2 separate regions of the Homo sapiens genome follow, and region 1 is linked to region 2. Evidence: promoter capture Hi-C in 16 types of primary human blood cells and fetal thymus (Javierre and others, 2016). All regions are on one chromosome and are shown on one strand. The core of a region is centred on a gene start or on the middle of the fragment in contact, and the rest is flanking DNA. Distances in the headings are between cores, read along the strand shown. Region 1 overlaps TEX14 (testis expressed 14, intercellular bridge forming factor). Region 2 holds the start of SMG8 (SMG8 nonsense mediated mRNA decay factor).

Region 1 (6,722 bases), core at 3,037-5,536, 530 kb after region 2:
GTCTCTGGGGGGAAAAAAAAAGAAAAAAGACACCATAGTGGCATCATTAGTGCCAAACCCTTAAAGGCAGGAGCTAGTTTACGTTATTTACCTTTTAATCTGTAGAGCATTTTTAAGTTTTATTTCAGTCGTGTCACCAAGCATACTAGGAAAGGACATACTGAATGAGATCATCCAAAGGGGTGTGGAGTATGTAGATAAGCGCAGTGACTGCTGGCTATTTGCACCCTAGGCTTATATTTCTTAAGATTTTGAATAGCCAGATATTAAAAATACAGGTGCTGGGTTATTGTAGTTTGGAAAATATCTTTATTCCAGAAATTAGGGGGTCTAAAGAGCACATGAGAAAAATGATCCTATATTTAGAGTGGTTTGAATCTAAGGGTGAACTCTCAGGCAGCGCTGGGGACTCATACTTAACTGGCAAGGGAAATAACATGATCATTAAAGGTGGATTTTTCAGGGTGAGGTTTGTCTCTTGCATTGTGGATGTGCTGACCCCTGTGGTTTTCTACAAATGTGGGAAACTTAATTGCATAATTTGTGGTAGTGGGGACTATGTTGGTTCTCTCCCCTGATCTGGCTTGTTTATAAAAGGCGTACGTTGTATCTTTGCTTCGTAGGTTTTCCTGTGTTATATTGTAACCTCCTGTTTTGGAATAGCGAGAGATTGATGCCTTCTAATGGTCATTTTTTTCTCCACACACGCTTTTGGTCTCACACCCCTCGTGGTTGGTGTTGTCATTGAGTACTACAGTGATTTGCCATTACAATCAGAAGTACGCAGTTGAATACCTTTGGCGGCTCTAAGGGAGTGTTACCTTCACATTTTCCTTGTTTGTAGCCCTTTCCTTTTCAAAGCTAACAATTTAGCATCTTCTGACTTTTCTTCTGTCTTTATATCTTTTTGTGGACCTCCAGAGTCCTTCTGTTTTTTTTCTTTTCTTGGAGACGGCGTTTCGCTCTTGTAGCCCAGGCTGGAGTACAATGGCGCAATCTCAGCTCACAGCAACCTCAGCCTCAAGGGTTCAAGGGATTCTCCTGCCTCAGCCTCTTGAGTAGCTGGGATTACAGGCACACGCCACCACGCCTTGCTAATGTTTGTATTTTTAGTAGAGACGGGGTTTCACCATGTTGGCCAGGCTGGTCTCGCACTCCTAACCTCAGGTGATTTACCTGCCTCGGCCTCCCAAAGTGCTGGGATTACAGGTGTGAGCCACGGCGCCTGGCTCCAGTGTCCTTCTCTTTTATTATTATTATTATTATTATTATTATTATTATTATACTTTAAGTTCTAGGGTACATGTGCACAACGTGCAGGTTTGTTACATATGTATACATGTGCCATGTTGGTTTGCTGCACCCATTAACTCGTCATTTACATTAGGTATGTCTCCTAATGCTATCCCTCCCCGTTTCCCCCATCCTATGACAGACCCTGGTGTATGATGTTCCCCACCCCGTGTTCAAGTGTTCTCATTGTTCAATTCCCACCTATGAGTGAGAACATACGGTGTTTGGTTTTCTGTCCTTGCAAAGTTTGCTCAGAATGATGGTTTCCAGCTTCATCCATGTCCCTACAAAGGACATGAACTCATCCTTTTTTATGGCTGCATAGTGTTCCGTGGTGTATATGTGCCACGTTTTCTTAATCCATTCTATCATTGATGGACATTTGGGTTGGTTCCAAGTCTTTGCTATTGTGAATAGTGCTGCAATAAGCATACACGTGCATGTGTCTTTATAGTAGCATGATTTATAATCCTTTGGGTATATACCCAGTAATGGGATTGCTGGATCAAATGGTATTTCTAGTTCTAGATCCTTGAGGAATCGCCACACTGTCTTCCAGTGTCCTTCCCTTAAGGACCCTGTGATTACATTAGGCCCATCTGGATAAGCTTTTCATCTTAAATCAATCACATCTAAAAACTTCCCTTTTTTTTCCCCCTTGAGTTGGAGTCTCGCTCTGTCGCCCAGGCTGGAGTGCAGTGGCACCATATCTGCTCACTGCAACCTCTGCCTACCAGGTTCAAGCAATTCTCCTGCCTCAGCCTCCCGAATAGCTGGGCTTACAGGCACCCGCCACCATGCCAGGCTAATTTTTGTATTTTTAGTAGAGATGGGGTTTCACCATGTTGGCCAGGCTGGTCTTGAACTCCTGACCTCGTGATCTGCCTGCCTTGGCCTCCCAAAGTGTTGGGATTACAGGCGTGAGCCACCGTGCCCAGCCATTTCTGGCTCTTAAACTTTGGAAAAGTCTTTATCTTGTAAGTAGCAGGCTAGAACTTGTGCAAGAAGAGTGACCCTATGTGAAGAGTGTTTTGAATCTGAGGGTGAGATGTCAGGCAACAACCATGCCTTCCACTTTACCGGGCAGGGAAGATACCCTGACCACAAAGGTGGTTTTCCCAGGGCAAGGTTCACTCATTGCATTCTGTGTTTGCTGGCCCCTGTGATTTCCCCAAATGTGGGATACTCAACTGCATAATTTGTGGTAGTGGGCGACTGTGTTCACACTTTCCCCTGTGTTATTCTTTGTCAAATGGGAAGTAGCCAATGTGATTGTCTGTGGCCGTGTTTGGCTTCTCCTTGCTTGTTTCTTGTGAACTGTGTCTTTAAATTTCCATGGAAGTGAGAAGCTGTACTACTATTTAGTTTGTGATAGTAACAGGCTTCCTTGGTGTTTTTTCTTGGCTGTGTTCCCTTAATCCAGCATAAACTTTGTACACAATGAGTACCACATATATGTTGGCTGAGTCAAATGAACTGGAAATCAAACTCAGGAAGGATTTCCTTTAAGCATTTTTATTTTTAGAGACAGGGTCTTGCTCTTGTCTCCCAGACTGGAGTACAGTGGTGCTCAATCATGGCTCAAAGCAGCCTTGACCTCCTGGACTCAGTCCTTCTGCCTCAGCCTTCCAAGTAGCTGTACAGGCATGTGCCACCACGGCTGGCTAATTTTTTTTTTTTTTTTTTTTTTGAGACGGAGTTTCCCTCTTGTTGCCCAGGCTGGAGTGCAATGGTTTGATCTCGGCTCCCAGCACCCTCCACCTCCTGAGTTCAAGCGATTCTCCTGCCTCAGCCTCCTGAGTAGCTGGGATTACAGGCACCCGCCACAACACCTGGCTACTTTTTTGTATTTTTTAGTAGAGACGGGGTTTCGCCATGCTGGCCAGACTGGCCTCAGGTGATCTGCCTGCCTCGTCCTCCCAAAGTACTGGGATTACAGGCGTGAGCCACCCCACCTGGTCAGCTGGCTAATTTTAAAAGAACTTTTTGTAGCATAGGGTCTCGCTATGTTGCCCAGGCTGGTCTCGAACTCTTGGCCTCAAGTGATCCTCCCACCTCGGCCTCTCAAGGTGCTGGGATTACAAAAATGAGTACCATACCTGGCCCCTAAAGGATTTTAACCTGCTCTTAACAATGACTATAGAATTGAAATTCATTCATTGCATTCTAAAATGACTACTTTGAATGATCACCTTTAGGTTCTGACATAGTAGTTTGTTGGTTTTGTTTTGTTTTGTTTTCTTTTGTTTGAGATGGAGTTTCACTCTTATTGCTCAGTCTGGAGTGCAATGGCATGATCTTGGCTCACTGCAACCTCTGCCTCCCAGGTTCAAGTGATTCTCTTGCCTCAGCCTCCCGAGTAGCTGAGATTACAGACGCCTGCCACCACGCCTGGGTTTTTTTGTGTTTTTTTTTGTTTTTTTGGTTTTTTTTGAGATGGATTTTCTCTCTTGTTGCCCAAGCTGGAGTGCAATGCTGTGATCTTGGCTTACTGCAACCTCTGCCCCCAGGGTTCAAGTGATTCTCCTGCCTCAACCTCCTGAGTAGCTGGGATTACAGGCACCTGCCACCACGCCTGGCTAATTTTCTTATTTTTAGTAGAGATGGGGTTTCACCATTTTGGCCAGGCTGGGCTTGAACTCCTGATCTCAGGTGATCTGCCTGCGTCAGCCTTCCAAAGTGCTGGGATCACAGGCGTGAGCAACTGCACCTGGCCGACTAATTTTTATGTTTTAGTAGAGAGGGTTTCACCATGTTGGTCAGGCTGGTCTCGAACTCGTGACTTCAGGTGATCCATTAACCTCAGCCTCCCAACGTGCTGGGATATACATGTGTGAGCCACGGCACCTGGCCCATAGTAGTTTTAAAAAGGGAAAAGCTTACATACTACTATGATATATCAATTTAAAAATGCAAAAAGTCCAGACTCAGTGGCTCGTGCTTGTAATCACCGTACCTTTGGAGGCCCAGGCGACAGAACAAGAACCTGTCTCTAAAAATTAAAAACATGTTTAAAGGAAATCCTTTTGGAAATGCTTCCTGAGTTTGATTTCCAGTTCATTCAATTCAGCCAATATATAATGGGGTACTTATTGTAAACAAAGCTTATTCTGGGTGAGGGGAATGCAGATACCCTTGGAACATAGTCCTTGTCATAATCAGGAGTCTGTCTGGGGAAGGGAGATGGGGAAACCATCTGTTAATATTATACCATACAATTCACCCATTTAAAAGATAGTTTGATTTTTAGAAAGAGCCAGAGATTGTCTGGAGACTTTTTTATGTGAACATAACCCCAATATTGTATTGTCTTCATTATAAAACAAAAGATGACACTTAGAACTGGATATCATTTGGCCCTTTCTCTTCTCATCTCCTCTCACTTCAAAATGCTTACATCTCTTAATACCCAGCATTCTCTTTGTTCTGCAGTTGGGCTCAACACACTCAAGGCTTGGCACAATCTTCTTTGTAGTTTTAGCTTTTTTCGGGAAAATCAACTAGTTTGCCCACCCATAGCCAGATACTTGTCATTTTGATTCTAGCAATCATAGTGAGGGTGAAGTGGTATTTCATGGTGATTTTGATTTGTATTACCCTGATGGCTAAGAATATTGAACATATTTTCGTGTGCTTATTGGCTATTTGCATCTTTTTTTTTTTTTGGAGATGGTTTCCCTGTGTCATCCAGGCTGGAGTGCAATGGCACAATGTCAGCTCACTGCAACTTCCACCTCCCAGGCTCAAGTGATTCTCATGCCTCAGCCTCCCAAGAAGCTGGGGTTATAGGCATGTGCTACCATGCCCAGCTAATTTTTGTGTTTTTTGTAGAGATGGGGTTTCGTCATGTTGGCCAGGCTGGTCTCAAACTCCTGGCTTCAAGTGATGCACCCCCCCTCAGCCTCCCACAGTGCTGGGATTACAGGTGTGAGCCACCGTGCCCGGCCTACCTGCCTTTTTTTTTTTTTTTCCAAAGGCCTCATCGAAGATAAATCTTTTTTTTTTTTTAACCACTTTATTGAAGGATAATTGACATACTATACTTGTGCTTTTGATGTCATATGTAAGAAATCATTCCCTAATTGGAGGTCAGGAAGATTTACATCTATGTTTTCTTCTTAGTGTTTCTATTCGTTTTTTGAGATGGATTCTCACTCTGTCACCCAGGCTGGAGTGCAGGGGCAGGATCTCGGCTCACTGCAACCTCCGCCTCCCAGGTTCAAGCGATTCTTGTGCCTCTCCGTCTCGAGTAGCTGGGATTACAGGCCTGAGCCACCATGCTCAGCTAATTTTTGTATTTTTAGTAGAGACGGGGTTTCGCCACGTTGGCCAGGCTGGTTGTGAACTCCTGACCTCAAGTGATCTGTCCACCTTGGCCTCCTGTAGTGCTAGGATTACAGGCGTGAGCCACTGCGCCTGGCCGGACTTTCATCATAAATAAGTTATTCTCACTCCTGTGAAAAGGATGTGGGTTCAATAGGATTAGTTTGTGGTTCTCAATTCTGTCAAATCAAGGGTTTCCTTTTTTTTTTTTGAGACAGAGTCTTGCTCTGTCGCCCAGGCTGGAGTGCAGTGGTGCGATCTCGGCTCACTGCAACCTCCACCTCCCTGGTTCAAGCAATTCCCCTGCCTTAGCCTCCCGAGTAGCTGGGATTATAGGCGCATGCCACCACACCCAGCTAAATTTTTTGTAGTTTTAGTAGAGATGGGGTTTCACCATGTTGGCCAGACTGGTCTTGAACTCCTGATCTCAGGCAATCTGCCCGCCTTGGCCTCCCAAAGTGCCAGGATTACAGGTGGGAGACACCGCACCCGGCCCAGGGTTTCCTTTTATAAGAACTAGTAACATTCCATTTACTACCTTGAAGATGTTTGTAGAAAATATAAACTACATATAGTTACCCCACAGATAATATGTCCTAACTATAATATGAAGGAGAGAAGCCACGTGGGGTGGCTCACGTCTATAATCCCAGGACTTTGGGAGGGTGGGAGGATCGCCTGAGCCAAGAAGTTTGAGACCAAGCTGGGCAACATGGCTTAACCCCAACTGTAGAAAAACAAAAAAAAGATTGAAAAAATTAGCTGGGCATGGTGGTGCATGCCTGTGGTCCCAGCTACTCGGGAGGGTGAGGTGGGAGGATCACCTGAGCCCAAGAGGTTGAGGATGCAGTGAGCTGAAATTGCGTGACTGCATTCCAACCAGCCTGGGTTACAGAACAAGACCCTGTCTCAAAAACAAAACAATACAAATATAAAGGAGAGAGAAAAATAAGTTACAATACAATTATTTATTTATTTATTTATTTATTTATTTATTTATTTTTGAGATGGAGTCTCACTCTGTCGTGTAGGCTGGAGTGCAGTGGCGTGATCTCGGCTCACTGCAACCTTTGCCTCCTGGGTTCAACCGATTTTCCTGCCTCAGC
Region 2 (7,055 bases), core at 15-2,514:
TGCCATAGGAATTCCCGAAGAGTGAAATCCACTAGCTGGCCTGAAGAACTGGAACTGCTGCTGTCAATGTGAAAGGAAAGTTGTTGTCGGCTGTGCTGCCTCATCACCTGGTATCGCCTAGGCCCAGAAAGGGGTGCAGGCACCAGCAAAGATTCCGGGTCCTTCACAGTACAATGACTCCTAAGTTGGTCCAGCAACATACCTACTGGGTCCTCCTCCTGGCTTCCCGGTACTATGTACACGAAAGCTTGGTTGGCAGGCACAGTAAAGAGGCAGTTGATGCTCTGATTAGTCAAGACACGACTCTTCCGGAAGATTCTATAGATCTGGTCCTCCAGGGCATGCTGCAGCCTCCTTTTGGGAGAATGTTTCTTGGGCTTGTCTGGATGAGCTGGGTCTTGGTTCCGAGGAGGTTCTACCTTGAGGGCTCCATTGAGTTGAAAGAGGAAAAGGAGTCTAGGTGGGCAAGGTCGGCAGTTTAGCTTCCAGTCTTTGCCAACTGGACAATCCTTAATGGCTGTTTTAAGGAGCGGCAGGACCTTCTGTCTCAGCCCATCCAGGGCTCTGAATACTCGATCATAAGTGATATCAAAGGAACAAGTGGGATGGACCAGAAGCAAGATATGACAGACAGAGAATAGGTAAAGGAGACTGAGGCACTGCAGCTTCTCTTGATGCTTCCAGAACTCGTGTGCTTCTGCATGAGGTAAAGAGAGTCCACCTCCAGCTTCCCCGCTCTGAAGAGCCCGACAAGCCCGGAGAAGCTGTGAATTGTCACAGATGGAGGTGAGGAGAAGATACAGAACTTTGCTTTCCTGACTGTAGTAGGCCTGCAGAAGGCTGTAGTCCTGGGAGCCTGCCTCAGTTCGGTTACCTTCCGCGACAGCTCCACTTCCCCGAACTGAACCCCCGGCTGCAGCCCCAGGGTCCTCGGCTCCACCGGCCTCACCCACGGCGCCAGCCTCAGTTCTGATTCCAGGTCCTGGATCCCCAGGATCTTGGTGGCGAAAGAGAGGAAAGACCTGTCGGTCGCACACCGTATTCACAAGAGAGAACTTCTCGGAATTCAGGCGTAGAGCCGTCTTGCCGAAGATTCCCACAACGCAGATCTCATCCTCCCGCCATGGAGGCTCCGGTCCGCCAGCCGCGCTCCCTCCGCCCTCAGTAGGGGACCCTCCGGGACTTTCAGAGCCCATCCAGGCTGATGCTCCCATTAGAAGGTCTCGCAAGCTCACGGGACCAGCCATAGTGCAGAGCGTTCTCTAGAGTCCTTCCGGTCCGTTAGTAAAACCGACCGGCTTTCGTCCAATTTTGAAATCCTTCCTCCGCTTCTTCAGTTCCTGCTTTCCCGTCACTTGAGTTCCGCCTCCTCTTCTCCTCTCCTAGTTTGTTTCCTCAACTGTAGGAATTGAGATATCAAAAACAAAAAACAAAAAAACAAAACAAAACTGGGACTACTGCGGTGGCTCACGCCTGTAATCCTAGCACTTTGGGAGGCCAAGGCGGGCGGATCACCTGAAGTCAGGAGTTCGAGACCAGGCTGGCCAACATGGTGAAACCCCATCTCTACTAAAAATACGAAAATTAGCCGGGCGTGGTGGCGGGCGCCTGTAATCCCAGCTACTCGGGAGGCTGAGGCAGGACAATCGCTTGAACCCGGGAGGCGGAAGTTGCAGTGAACCGAGATCACACCATTGCACTCCAGCCTGGGCAACAAGAGCGAAAACCGTCTAAAAAAAAAAAAAAAAAAAAAAAAAAAAGCAAAAATTAGGCGTGGTGGCGCATACCTGTAGTTCCAGCTGCTCAGGAGGCTGAGGCAGGAGAATTGCTCGAACCAGGAGGTGGAGGTTGCAGTGAGCCGAGATCACCCCGCTGCACTCCAGCCTGGGCGACAGAGTGAGACTCCGTCTCAAAAAAAAAAAAAATTGCGAAATATCTTTGTATGTAAATTATAACTTGCAGAACCTCTCTAACTAGAAGGCATATTGACAAATAGCTGCCAGGATAAAACTTACAACCAGATTTAAATGTATAATTATAACGTTTATTATTCTGGGGTTTTGTAAAAAATAAAAATCTTTGAATCTAAAAAAATTATCTATAGCACTATACAATAACATGACTGAATCTTTAAAATAAATGTTGATTGAAAGAAATCAGAAACAAAAGTGTATATACCCTATAATTCTATTTTTTTTTTTTTTTTTTTTTTTTTTTGGAGATGCAGTCTTGCTCTGTGGCCAGGCTAGAGTTCAGTGGCGCGATCTCGACTCACTGCAACCTCCGGCTCCCCGGTGCAAGTGATTCTCTTGCCTCAGCCTCCCAAGTAGCTGGGATTACAGGTGCGTGAGACCACACCCAGCTAACTTTTGTATTTTTAATAGAGACAGGATTTCACCATGTTGGCCAGGATAGTCTCAATCTCCTGATCTCATGATCTGCCCGCCTCGGCCTCCCAAAGTGGTGGGATTACAGGCGAGAGCCACTGCGCCAGGCCTGATTTTATTTCTATAGAGTTCAAAAGCAAGCAAAATAAACCATTGCATTTAGGGGTGTGTTCTTACTAAAAGCAAGGAAATATTTATTGTACCAAGTAGGTCAGTGATTACTTAGTGAGGGAAGGGATTATGATATAATATATATATTATATATATACATAATAATATATATTACACATATACATAATAATATATATTATATATATACATAATAATATATATTATATATATTTTGAGACAGAGTCTTGCTCTGTTGCCCAGAGTGGAGTACAGTGGTGCAATCTAAGCTCACTGCAAACTCCACCTCCCAGGTTCAAGTGATTCTACTGCCTCAGCCTCCCAAGGAGCTGGGATTACAGGTGCACCACCATGGGCGGCTAATTTTTGTATTTTTAGTAGAGATGGTGTTTCACCATGTTGGCCAGGCTGGTCTCGAACTCCCGACCTCACATCATCCACCCACCTCGGCCTCCCAAAGTGCTGGGATTACAGGTGTCAGCCACCACACCTCGCCTCCGGCCTAAAATTTTTTTTTTTTTTTTTTGTGAGACAGAGTCTCACTCTGTCACCCAGGCTGAAGTGCAGTGGTGCTATCTGGGATCACGGCAACCTCCATCTCCTATTCCCTGTCTCCGTCTCCTCAAGCAATTCTTCTGCCTCAGCCTCCCAAGTAGCTGGGATTACAAGCACGTACCACCACGCCCACCTAAACTTGTATTTTTAGTAGAGATGGGGTTTCCCCACGTTAGCCAGGCTGGTCTCGAACTTCCAACCCCAGGTGATCTGCCCACCCCGGCCTCCCAAAGTGCTGGGATTATAGGTTTGAGCCATCACGCTCGGCATTGATTTTTTAATTCATATATTTTCTATACTTACTATATACTTTTTTGTTTTTTTGAGACAGAGTCTCACTCTGTTGCCCAGGCTGGAGTGCAGTGGCGTGATCTCAGCTCCCTGCAAGCTCTGCCTCCCGGGTTCATGCCATTCTCCTGCCTCAGCCTCCCAAGTAGCTGGGACTACAGGCGCCTGCCACCACGCCCGGCTAATTTTTTGTATTTTTAGTAGAGACCAGGTTTCACCGTGTTAGCCAGGATGGTCTTGATCTTCTGACCTCATGATCCACCTGCCTTGGGCTCCCAAAGTGCTGGGATTACAGGCGTGAGCCACTGCGCCCGGCCAATATATACTTTTCTATAGGTATTATTATTTCTAGTTAAAAAAAAAGGTTAAAAAGGGAAAAACCAAAACTTTTATTAATCTTTATTTAAAGATGCAAGGTAGAACACATTTTAACACTGTACAATGGCAGTAGCAGCTTTGCAAATGTTTATCTATATGGACTTTTTTTTCCTGCCTGGCTTCGTTATATAGCAAAGCATTTTTCTTTTTTCTTTCTTTTTTTTTTTTTTTTTTTTTTGAGACAGCATCTTGCTCTGTCACCCAGCAGGCTGGAGTGCAGGTGGTATGAACACTGCTCGCTGGAGCCTCAACCTCCTGGACTCAAGTGATTCTCCCACCTCAGTCTCCCGAGTAGCTGGGACTACAGGCACATGCCACCATGCCCGGCTAATTTTTTGTTTTTTGTAGAGACAGGGTCTTGCAATGTTGCCCATACTGGTTTCAAACTCTTGGCCTCAAGTGATCCTCCCACCTCAGCCTCCCAAAGTGCTGGGATTACAGGTGTGAGCCACTGTGCCTGGCCCCCAAGCCTATAATTTTTTAATTTATATATTTTTCTATACTTAACATATACTTTTTTTTTTTTTGAGACAGTTTCGCTCTTGTTGCTCAAGCTGGAGTACAATGGGGCGATCTCGGCTCACTGCAACCTTTGCCTCCCAGGTTCAAGCCATTCTGGCTCAGCCTTCCCAGTAGCTGGGATTACAGGTGTCTGCCACTATGCCCGGCTAATTTTTGTATTTTTAGTAGAGACAGGGTTTCACCATGTTGGCCAGACTGGTCTCGAACTCTTGACCTCAGGTGATCTGCCTGCCTCGGCCTCCCAAAGTGCTGGGATTATAGGCATGAGCCACCGCACCCGGCCAACATTTACTTTTCTATAGGTATTATATTTCTAGTTTAAAAAGAAGGTTAGAAAGAGAAAAACCAAAACTTTTATTAATCTTTATTTTAAAACATAACCAGATGCACCTTGGTTGTTTACATTCTCTGGTTGCCATTCAGTCTCAAAGTAAACACTGGGAGCATATGATAAATCGTAGTTTAAGGAAGCCATAGCACTTACAGAGTTCTCAAATGGTTACAATATAAAATCTGTCATAAAAATCAGTAAAAGATGCAAGGTAGAACACATTTTAACACTGGTACAATGGCAGTAGCAGCTTTGCAAATGTTTGTCTATATGATTTCCACAGGACTTTTTTTTTTTGCCTGGCCTCATTATGTAGCAAAGCATTTTTTCTTTTCTTTTTGAGATGGAGTCTTGCTCTGTTACCCAGCAGGCTGGAGTGCAGTGGTATAAACACAGCTCACTGCAGCCTCAACCTCCCGGGCTCAAGTGATTCTTCCACCTCAGTCTCCTGAGTAGCTGGGACTACAGGCACACATCACCGCTCCCGGCTAATTTTTCGTTTTTTGTAGAGTTGGGGTCTTGCAGTGTTGCCCAGGCTTGTTTTGAACTCTTGGCCTCAAGCGAACCTCCTGCCTTAGCCTCCCAAAGTGCTAGGATTATAGGTGTGAGCCACTGCACTGGGCCATAAAGCATTTTTCTTTTTCTTTCTTTTTTTTTTGAGACAAGGTCTCACTCTGTTGCCCAGACTGTAGTGCAGTAGTGTGATCTCAGCTCACTGCAACCTCCACTTCCATCGTTCAAGTGATTCTCACGCCTCAGTCTTCTGAGAAGCTGAGACTATAGGCACATGCCACCACACCCAGATAATTTTTATATATTTTTTTTGGTAGAGACGGGGTTTCACCATGTTGGCCAGGCTGGTCTCAAACTCCTGACCTCAAGTGATACACCCACCTCGGCCTCCCAAAGTGCTGGGATTACAGGTGTGAGCCACTGTGCCTGGCCCCCAAGCCTATAATTTTTTAATTTATATATTTTTCTATACTTAACATATACTTTTTTTTTTTTTTTGAGACAGTTTCGCTCTTGTTGCTCAAGCTGGAGTGCAATGGGGCGATCTCGGCTCACTGCAACCTCTGCCTCCCAGGTTCAAGCCATTCTGGCTCAGCCTTCCCAGTAGCTGGGATTACAGGTGTCTGCCACTATGCCCGGCTAATTTTTGTATTTTTAGTAGAGACAGGGTTTCACCATGTTGGCCAGACTGGTCTCGAACTCTTGACCTCAGGTGATCTGCCTGCCTCGGCCTCCCAAAGTGCTGGGATTATAGGCATGAGCCACCGCACCCGGCCAACATTTACTTTTCTATAGGTATTATATTTCTAGTTTAAAAAGAAGGTTAGAAAGAGAAAAACCAAAACTTTTATTAATCTTTATTTTAAAACATAACCAGATGCACCTTGGTTGTTTACATTCTCTGGTTGCCATTCAGTCTCAAAGTAAACACCGGGAGCATATGATAAATCGTAGTTTAAGGAAGCCATAGCACTTACAGAGTTCTCGAATGGTTACAATATAAAATCTGTCATAAAAATCAGTAAAAGATGCAAGGTAGAACACAGTTTAACACTGGTACAATGGCAGTAGCAGCTTTGCAAATGTTTGTCTATATGATTTCCACAGGACTTTTTTTTTTTTGCCTGGCCTCATTATGTAGCAAAGCATTTTTTCTTTTCTTTTTGAGATGGAGTCTTGCTCTGTTACCCAGCAGGCTGGAGTGCAGTGGTATAAACACAGCTCACTGCAGCCTCAACCTCCCAGGCTCAAGTGATTCTCCCACCTCAGTCTCCTGAGTAGCTGGGACTACAGGCACACATCACCGCTCCCGGCTAATTTTTCGTTTTTTGTAGAGTTGGGGTCTTGCAATGTTGCCCAGGCTTGTTTTGAACTCTTGGCCTCAAGCAATCCTCCTGCCTTAGCCTCCCAAAGTGCTAGGATTATAGGTGTGAGCCACTGCACTGGGCCATAAAGCATTTTTTCTTTCTTTCTTTCTTTTTTTTTTTTTTGACACAGGGTCTCACTCTGTTGTCCAGACTGGAGTGGAGTGGTGTGATCTTGGCTCACTGCAACCTTCACCTCCAGGATGCACATAATTCTCGTGCTTTAGCTTCCTGAGTAGCTGGGGCTATAGGCACATGCCACCACGCCTGGATAATTTTTATTTTTATTTTTGGTAGAGACGGGGTTTCACCATGTTGGCCAGGCTGGTCTCAAACGTCTGACCTCAAGTGTTTTGCCCGCCTCAGCCTCCCAAAGTGCTGGGATTACAGGCGTGAGCCACTGTGCCAGGCCTTTTTTTTTTTTTTTTTTTTTTTTGAGGCAGGGTCTGGCTCTGTTGCCCAGGATGGAATACAGTGGCACAATCTCAGCTCACTGCAACCTCTACCTCCGGGGCCCAAACCATCCTCCCACCTCAGCCTCACAAGTAGCTGGGACTACAGGCACACAACATCACACCTGGCTAATTT

The links. Contacts are between HindIII fragments. The CHiCAGO score rates a contact against its expected background, and 5 or more counts as called.
Region 1: a contact is called between a fragment that was not itself captured here and the fragment with the promoter of SMG8 in region 2, in 1 of 17 cell types (M2 macrophages). The highest score is 6.0, in M2 macrophages.

Annotation. Positions count from the first base shown.
Region 1 is chr17:58,673,381-58,680,102 of GRCh38, reverse strand. All of the region lies in intron 1 of TEX14 (testis expressed 14, intercellular bridge forming factor), which reads left to right. The region is part of intron 1 of IGBP1C (IGBP1 family member C); the gene reads left to right. It also overlaps the pseudogene RNU1-52P and the pseudogene RNVU1-34. Among named protein-coding and RNA genes, the nearest start is that of IGBP1C, 15 kb to the left of the region's middle. The HindIII fragment of the contact is 226 bases long and covers 4,174-4,399 here.
Region 2 is chr17:59,204,244-59,211,298 of GRCh38, reverse strand. SMG8 (SMG8 nonsense mediated mRNA decay factor) reads right to left here and starts at 1,264. Exons shown (of 4, transcript NM_018149.7): 1 at 1-1,264. The coding sequence starts at 1,247. It overlaps PRR11 (proline rich 11), which reads right to left. Exons shown (of 10, transcript NM_018304.4): 10 at 4,590-7,055. RefSeq lists an enhancer at 1,386-1,455. The HindIII fragment of the contact is 12,029 bases long and covers 250-7,055 here.